Regions from separate parts of the Homo sapiens genome. Here regions 1 and 3 are each linked to region 2. The links are contacts of gene promoters, found by promoter capture Hi-C in blood cells and fetal thymus (Javierre and others, 2016). All regions are on one chromosome and are shown on one strand. The core of a region is centred on a gene start or on the middle of the fragment in contact, and the rest is flanking DNA. Distances in the headings are between cores, read along the strand shown. Region 1 holds the start of C12orf56 (chromosome 12 open reading frame 56). Region 2 holds the start of CNOT2 (CCR4-NOT transcription complex subunit 2). Region 3 holds the start of MON2 (MON2 regulator of endosome-to-Golgi trafficking).

Region 1 (2,700 bases), core at 48-2,547, 5.9 Mb before region 2:
GCATCTGCTTATTCATGCATTTATTCTTTTGCTGGGGAGGGGGTGGAGGGGAACGGTGTCTCACTCATTCTGTAGCTCAGGCTGGAGTGCAGGTGGGGCGATCTCGGCTCACGGCAACCTCCGCCTCCCAGGTTCAAGCGATTCTTGTGCCTCAGCCTCCCAAGTAGTTGGGATTACAGGTGCACACGACCACGCCTGGGTAATTTTTGTACTTTTGGTGGAGACGGCGTTTCACCATGTTGGCCAGCCTGGTCTCGAACCCCTGACCCCCGGTGATCTATCCACCTTGGCCTCCCAAAGTGTAAGGATTATAGGCGTGATCCACGGCACCCGGCCTTATGCATTTATTCTTATTGAGCATCTAACATGCTCTAAGCATCGGGGGCAAAAAAGTAAATGAGATATAACAGCACTTAACACACAGCATTTATTTGCACGGGTGTTGGCTTTCTAGCCCTCCAGCGACTGCTTCTAGGTAGGGGCCCTCTTTCGTTTTTGCATCCTCCGAGTCTAGCACAGTGCCTGGCACTGACTAGGTGCTTTGTTAACAAAGGAATGACTTTAAAAGGTATTTTTGATAGGGAGCTCGGTTCTCAAACCTGTAGCCCTACGTGGGGTAGGGGAGGCGGGAGAATGGGTGAACAGGCAGACACGAGGAGAATGGGAGACGTGTTTGTATTAGGAGTGCTCACAGCAATCCACAGCTTCCCTGTGTTCCTCGTTCTCAAATAAGAGGAGGGGAGTCGAGGGCAGGATGGGGCAGCCCTCCCCGCGCAGGAGGGCTGGGTTTGGGGGCCCCAGCCGGGAGTTCTCACTGCGCTCCCGAGCCCGCCTGCCCACCCGCGCCGCTCACCAGGTCAATGGCCACGACGTCCCGCAGAGCCACTACCCGCCGGATGGACTTGGGCGGGTTCTCGGTTAGGTAGACGAGCCGGTCGCTTAGCACCACATACTTGAGGATGTGGTTCTCAGAGTTGGACACCACGATGCATGGCTCGTAGGCGCGGACCGCGTCGTAGACCTCGGGCGGCAGATGCCGCCGCAGGAACACATCCAGGCGGCTGTTCCTGCGCGCGGGGAAGCCGGACGGCAAGGGGCTGGCCATGCCCGGCGCCCGCAGCGTGGCGGAGTGCTGGGACTCGAGGCCCTCAGCTCGCCCTCTCCCCGCCCCCGCGCTGGAACCCGCGCGCCACAAAGCCGCCGGCCACGCGTCGCCTCCTCTCCAGGCGCGGGGACCCGGGCCGCAACTGCAGGAATCGACGCTAGGTCGGCTTCCCTGGAGCGCCCTCCCCAGCCCTGTCCAGCCTCTCGATCTTTGTCCTAACCTCAGACGGCGATGGGCGGGGCAAGACGCTGGTCCTTCAGGCCCGAGTTGATGGGCACCTCGGGCTCATCACCGTGAAGTCCCCTGCGGCCGAAGGGCGGTGGATTTTTAGGGTCTCTCCCGCCCACCCCTAATGCCAGTCCCCACCACTGCGTACTCTGTTGCGGATCACACCATCCAATACAAACTTTATTGGTAATGGAAGCCAGCTTCAATCTGGTTTCCTGTTAGAAACTTGAAAGAGTTTAATTTACCGATTTATTTTTAACAACCCTAGAAACCTATTAAACCCAATCACACAGATTTAGCTTTTGGTTATAACATGGCCTGGCACAGCTTTCTGATATTGTCGGAGTGTAAACATAGGTCTTCTTTCTCCAACCAGTGAGAAAGGGATTTTTTTTTTCTTTTCTCTTTTTTTTTTTGAGACGCAGCTTTGCTCTTGTTGCCCAGGCTGGAGTGCAATGGCGCCATCTCGGCTCACCGCAACCTCCCCCTCCCGGGTTCAAGCGATTCTCCTACCTCAGCCTCCTGAGTAGCTGGAATTACAGGCATGCGCCACCACGCCCAGCTAATTTTGTATATTTTAGTAAAAACGGGGTTTCTCCATGTTGGTCAAGCTGATCTCCAACTCCCGACCTCAGGTAATCCGCCCGCCTCGGCCTCCCAAAGTGCTGGGATTACAGGCGTTAAGTCACCTCGCCCAGCCTTTGAGAAAGGGATTCTTCACATGAATTGATGTGAGCACACCCAAACCAACCTAAGGCATATGGTTTTGTTTCCAATGCCCAGGACAATCTATGCAGGAAGAATGAATGGGTGATGCTGGCATCTTGAAAAGTTGAAGCTGATAGACTGAAGAATGCGGATTACATACCCTGAGGCTGCAGAGGAGTAAGTATTCCTTAGTTTTTACAGGCCAAGAATAACTTACTAATTAGGTTAGAGAAATGAGAAGGGCACAACAGAAATGCTCTAAGTCAGAAGTTCCATTTTTTATTTCGAATCCTAGAAAAGTTATTCTCTTCCCCTCCCCATTGACCCAAAAACCTGATAATGAAACCATATCGTTCATTGCTGTGGCTGCCAGCAACCCTGAATCAAATTTGATATATTCTTTATATTCTCCCTTTCTACATATTTTATTATTGTATACTGTATGTTATAAGCAACTTCAAATCCCTTGTGGAAAGAAGGTATAAATATATTACAATCCATAAACAGATATTGTAGACTACACTAGTACAAAGGGAAAGAGAAATGTTTTGGTCTGGCTAAACTTTTTTTTTTTTTTTTTTTTTGAGACAGAGTCTCCCTCTGTCACCCAGGCTGGAGTGCAGTGGCATGATATCGGCTCACTGCAGCCTCTGCCTCCT
Region 2 (2,700 bases), core at 146-2,645:
AACAGTGAAGTAGAGTGTTTGATGAAATGAATAACCAAGCAAAACATTTTCTACCTACACCAGTACCACTAGGAGTTGAAATAAATTCACACAATGTCTGCTGATATGTCAAAACACCTTACCTTCAAAAACATGACAGTTACCTTTTATTTTATAGTATGCTTGTGTTTCTTCCTATTTCTTGCTTTTGACCTTCAATGATAAATGTAAACTGGATTACAGTGATTCTTTTGTAAGTAAAAGGTGACTTTTTAAAAGAAACAACCAATGGAAATAGAAATTTTATTTACTTCAAATTAACTGTACTTTACTCAAATAGAAAAGAATAATTTTCACATTATGAAGCTACACAATTCCAAAATACACATGCTGAGGCTCTTTTTAAGTCCGAATTGTCTAGTAATTACAAAAAAGTGAAGAGTTTACAGATATACAAGGAAATAAAGGCGAATTATTGCAAAGAAAACAAGTTTAATTTCACTTTGAATGACAACGATTTTTCTGGAAAGCAGATACTTCACTCCTTTAAGTTTCCACCCAAGCCACAATAATTTCAAACGGTCTTGCGGATGACCCAGCTGGTCACTCTTGTTTATGTGGGGACTGGAGGTAATGAGAGCCAAAAAAAGTGCTATAAACCTAATTTGGCTAGAGCAAGTTCACACGACACGACCGTGCTTTAAAAACTTGCTCTCCATTATGTACTTCCTTCCATCAGGTTGGGGAAAAAAAAATGGTGGGGATGGTGAGTAAACACACCAGTGGTTTCATCAGAGGGGAACTCACTACTCAGGAGGTGACGGTGACGTGGTGCCGGTCCCTGAAGTACGCGCACAAGCTCCGGAGGTTGCGGGAGCTGAGGGAGGAAACAGGGACACGATCAGATTCGCTCCAGGTGGCGGGAGTGAGGAGGGGAGGAGTGACGAGGCGGACGTGCGGGGGCGGGGGTGTCCAACACAAACACAAACACAAACACGAACACGAACACGCTCAGCGTCCCCGGGGAGGGCGGACTGAAGCCACCTCACCATTCATCGCCCCTGGACCCCGCAGTCCCCCTCGGACTCAGGGCCAGAGCCTTCTGCGAAGCAACCTAGCCCCAGGGAAACGGTAGCGGCCGCAGAAGCCCCGCTCTCTGTAACGGCCGCGGAGGAGCAGCAAGCCTCCCTGTGAGTCGGTGGGAGACAAGACGGAGCGGCGGTAAGGGCGGTAGGGAAGTGAAGCGCCTCTCTCCACCTTGTTAGAAGCGCGCTGAAAGCGGCCTGCCTACCCACCCCATCGCTGCCGTTTTGCAGTCGTCGCTCCCACCTTCCGCTGCCGCCTGGAGGGAAGCCGGAGCGACGGGGGTCACGGCGGCGGTCAGAGGGTAAAGGTCTTGCTCCCAGCAGCCTCCGCGGTGGATACGTCGCCATCTTGGATCCGCGGGACAAGAAAATTCATGCGGTGAGTTTTTGGTAAATTTTCGGAAGTCTGGCAGCGGGGCGCGCGGCGGGGGCGGCAGATTCGGGGCCCCCGCAAGGCGGGGGAATGCCCCGGGGCCGGTCCGGTCGCGCCCAGGGTCCGCCGGTAGCGTCCCGGCCCACCGCTTCCCGTTGCTTTTGTCTCGGCTCCAATCGAGAGACGGAGAGCGGAGCGGGCGGGGAGGGGGGTGGCGGCGGTGGAGGGAGGGAGGGGGTGTGTATGGGGGTGGTGGTGGACCGGACGTAAAGCGTCGCTGTACTCGGGCCGCTGCAGCAGCAGCAGCTCCAGATCCTAGGCCCGGTCCCATCCGCGAGTGGTGGGGCTTCCCCAGACTCCACTCCCCTAGGCTCCCGCCAGCGCGGAGGAGCCGCTGCCGCCGCGCTGCTTCCTGGGGGAGAAGAGAAGGCGGCAGCGGCCGTGGCCGTGGCCGACGAGCTCGAGCCCGCTTTAGACGGCTCTGCCGCCTTCCCGGCAGCTGGTGCTGTCTGTGGCTTCTTACCTTCTCTCAATACACGTATATCATCTGCCAGTTATGTGTATTTCTGTTAGTGTGTTTGCAAGTGTCAGATGGGAGACACTGGACTGGCTAACGGGTGTCAGGATCCTGCAGGCCCTGGGATACCGAAGGCTGTGCATGGTGGAGGGAGAAGGAATGCAACTGCGATGCCGCCTCTGCCACCGCACCAGGAAGGTGAAGCTTCCGTAGTGTCGTAGACTGAGTCCGGATGATCCTGGGGCGGCGGAGGAACCACAGACGCTTCTGTCTGTGAAGTTGCAAGTCCTGGGTTTCTACTTCCGCAGGGGCCTCTCCACCTTTTGCTGTCGTAGGTCTCGCTTAAAAGTTTAACAGAAGAAAAGAGTAGGGTTAAAAGAGGCCTTTGTAGTTCTTCATTGAAGCACTGTTGTCTGTCCGGGTGAAAGCTGATAACTCTTGGTAACTGTGGTCCTTAGCAAAAGAGAATTGGAGTTTTCTTTTATACAAAGTATTTCCAAGGTTTTAGACCTTATATTTATTCCAGGCCTGTAGGTACGGTATTACTACCACAAAAGTCTTACATTAAGGGTACCACCCTCTCAGAGGGAACCTAAACATCAACTTCCTTCGAATCCTTGGAGACATCTTCACTTTTCAACATCCGGAAGACTGAGTGCAACATATTTTGTTTCATTTTCATAAAAGTCTTGGTCAGAGAATCCCACTCCTTTTAAAATCGTTTGGGCAATTCCTCATAATTAAGT
Region 3 (2,741 bases), core at 46-2,545, 7.8 Mb before region 2:
ATTCCATTTGAACTTTTTTGCTAAATTCACCAGTTTTCATACATAAAGCTTATACCATAGGAGGTGTCAAGTTTCCCAGAAGTTGTGTAATAGGCACAAATGATCAAAATTACTGCCCTAGGAGCTCTCTACTATTACCTCATCTGTCCCCTTTATCCATCCTTGCTTTGCTTCTTATCAGAAGGAAAAATAAAATAAAATTATTTAGCTTACAAAGTAGCTCTGTTACAGCCAAACAGCGCTATCCACTGACAATCTCATGGCTCACTGTCTTCCATCATGTCATAAGCTCAGCTGTCTGAAGGTGTTGGTTTCTTCATCTCTACTGTTTCTGGTTTTTCCTCCCTCATTTTCTGCTTTCTGACCAGCAGCTGCAAAATGTCTTGGGGAAAAAGTAGACCAACCTGGATCTTGGGGAAATACAGATGAAGATTTTTCTGTTTGGCTTTTGCCTCATATTTATTTGGCACTTCAGACCTGATGAAGGCTTTTATGTATCTGTGCCTTATTTGAGCCTCGAAACTCTGATTTTATAATAGAAGGGTATTCATTCAACAAGTATGTACTGATTACCTGCTATATGCCAGACACTGTTCTAGGTGCTGGAGATACACAGGAAACAAAATAAGATTTAAAAAGAGGAAGAACCGGCAGCCCAACTCGCGAAACTCTCCTTTTAGCTGGGAGCATCTGCCAGTAAAGGGGCCGGGACAGATCTCGTAGCGCCTGGTAGGTGATTGGAGGAATTTTGGCTTTTACTTTGAGTGAGATGGGAGGCCAGCGGAATGCGTGGAGCAGAGGGTAGTCTCATTTTAGAGATTAGGAAAATAAGAGGCTACCCCACAGTAAGTGCACCAGTTGCGTTTAAAGAAAAAAAATGTATATTAACAGGAGGTAGCCACTGATTTGGGGCCACTAGTCCAGAGATTCGAAATGAAGCGGGAGGAGACACGTTAAGATTAATCTACAGGGAAACAAATTATTTACACCGAAATACAATTTAACACAAACATACGCAAAGAGATATGCCAAGGAGTACTCGGGGGCTCTGTTCAGGCACTTGTTAATGAAAACGAAGCGAATCTTGACGCCTTAAACCCTGTCTAGCCTACTTGATTCCGGGGGTGGGGCTGTGGGAATCGCTGCCCACCCGGAATCCCGCCTGCCCCGAGCATGGCCAAGCCCCAGCCCCGCCCCGCCGACGGCCTGCCGCCGGGGTTGGCCGCGGCGGTGGCGGAGGCCACGGTACCCGGAAGTGCGGCTGACGTGTCCCGGCAGCGCTCGGAATTGTGGGCGACTCGGCTAATGGCGTCGGCGAGTCTTAGGGGCCTGGGGAGCTGGCGCTGAAGCTTCTTGCCAGGTTGGCTGGTGACACCCGGTGTGGCTGGGCCCCGCGGCAGCGGAGGGACCTGCCCGCCTTGTGGGTTTCTCGGCCAGAGTCGGCGGAGCCTAGCGGGACGGTGCGACTGCGGGGGGCGCCTCCGAGAAAAGCCAGAGGTGTTGCGGGGAAGCTGCTGGGGGACGCTCGAGCAGGCTCCGGGTTCGCAGCCCAGGGCCCAAGAAGCGGGCTGCTGAAGGACCAGAGACACCGGGAGGGAGCTGCCTGTGGCCCTAAGGAGCTGACCGTGCCAGAGCTTGTTTGTACCTCTCGGAAATTGGCTGGGACCTTGGAGGATCATGTCCGGCACCAGCAGCCCCGAGGCGGTGAAGAAGCTGCTGGAGAATATGCAGAGCGACTTGCGCGCCTTGTCACTGGAGTGCAAGAAGAAATTCCCACCTGTCAAAGAGGTAAGCTTCAGGTGACGTCAGGAGAAGGCACTGTGAGCATGCCTGGTCCTGTTAGACTCAGTGCTTCACCCCAGTTTCCAGTCCTAATTTTCATTCAGGCCTCACCTTTCCAGATTTGTGAGTCGGTGGGTTGTTCCACAAGGGCTTTTTATAGTTTCCACTGGAGAGGGCTGAGGCACTTTGATTTTCTCCCCTCTCCTGTCCTCCCAGTTTAGGAGTGAAGTTCATGAAGTGAGCCTATTCAGTTAATCCAGCTAGGTGTACTGTGCACTAGCCTATTCTGGCCTTTTTCTTACTTGAAACTGGCCAAACCAAAATTGAAAAACTTGTTTGTTGCTCCCCGAAACGAGTATCCACCCATCTTGTTGAAACCTGTACTCCTCACGTTTATGGCATATCACTGAATTGGAAACAATTTTCCTTCTGGTATATATCATTCAGCTTAACTCTGTATCAATCCTTTGACGTGTTAATAAACTATCCAGAGCCACCTAATTTATGAAGAATATTGAAGATCCACATAATCATGTTAAACCTTGTTATGAGCAGTACTGTAGTGGGAAGTTGGGCTTGCAGTCAGAGCGAATACACCTGAATTTAGTTCCAGCAATAAATCTTAACCTCTTTGAGCTTCGGGTTTTTTTTTCCAGCTGTAAAATAGGGTTAAAGGATGGTTTTATATTATGTATGGGAAAGATGTCAGAGCAGAAGGGTATTATTAAAGAGATCCCAGTAAATAATACATGGAAATTTAATTCTCCAAATAGTTCTTGAGGTGAAATATTTAACATTTGGTTACTATTTGCTTTTTCTCTTAAAATGCCATTTTAATTCTCTAAAAAAAAAAAACAAACAAAAAAACCCACCAAAAACAGGCCCGGCTAATTTTGTATTTTTAGTAGAAACAGGGTTTCTCCATGTTGGTCAGGCGGGTCTCGAACTCCCGACTTCAG

The links. Contacts are between HindIII fragments. The CHiCAGO score rates a contact against its expected background, and 5 or more counts as called.
Region 1: the fragment with the promoter of C12orf56 here is called in contact with the fragment with the promoter of CNOT2 in region 2 in 1 of 17 cell types (total CD4 T cells); the score reaches 5.1 in total CD4 T cells.
Region 3: a contact is called between the fragment with the promoter of MON2 here and the fragment with the promoter of CNOT2 in region 2, in 3 of 17 cell types (total B cells, non-activated CD4 T cells and total CD8 T cells). The highest score is 6.4, in total B cells.

The regions. Positions count from the first base shown.
Region 1 is chr12:64,389,461-64,392,160 of GRCh38, forward strand. C12orf56 (chromosome 12 open reading frame 56) reads right to left here and starts at 1,298. Exons shown (of 13, transcript NM_001170633.2): 1 at 854-1,298. The coding sequence starts at 1,105. The HindIII fragment of the contact is 6,871 bases long and covers 1-2,700 here.
Region 2 is chr12:70,242,038-70,244,737 of GRCh38, forward strand. It overlaps CNOT2 (CCR4-NOT transcription complex subunit 2), which reads left to right and starts at 1,396. Exons shown (of 16, transcript NM_014515.7): 1 at 1,396-1,443. PRANCR (progenitor renewal associated non-coding RNA) reads right to left here and starts at 1,323. Exons shown (of 5, transcript NR_120460.1): 1 at 1,275-1,323; 2 at 787-856; 3 at 144-192. RefSeq lists enhancers at 682-1,881, 1,056-1,255, 1,986-2,125 and silencers at 815-1,354, 1,426-1,685. The HindIII fragment of the contact is 4,785 bases long and covers 1-2,156 here.
Region 3 is chr12:62,465,531-62,468,271 of GRCh38, forward strand. It overlaps MON2 (MON2 regulator of endosome-to-Golgi trafficking), which reads left to right and starts at 1,296. Exons shown (of 35, transcript NM_015026.3): 1 at 1,296-1,788. The coding sequence starts at 1,678. RefSeq lists a silencer at 998-1,317 and enhancers at 1,348-1,457, 1,453-1,952. The HindIII fragment of the contact is 1,301 bases long and covers 47-1,347 here.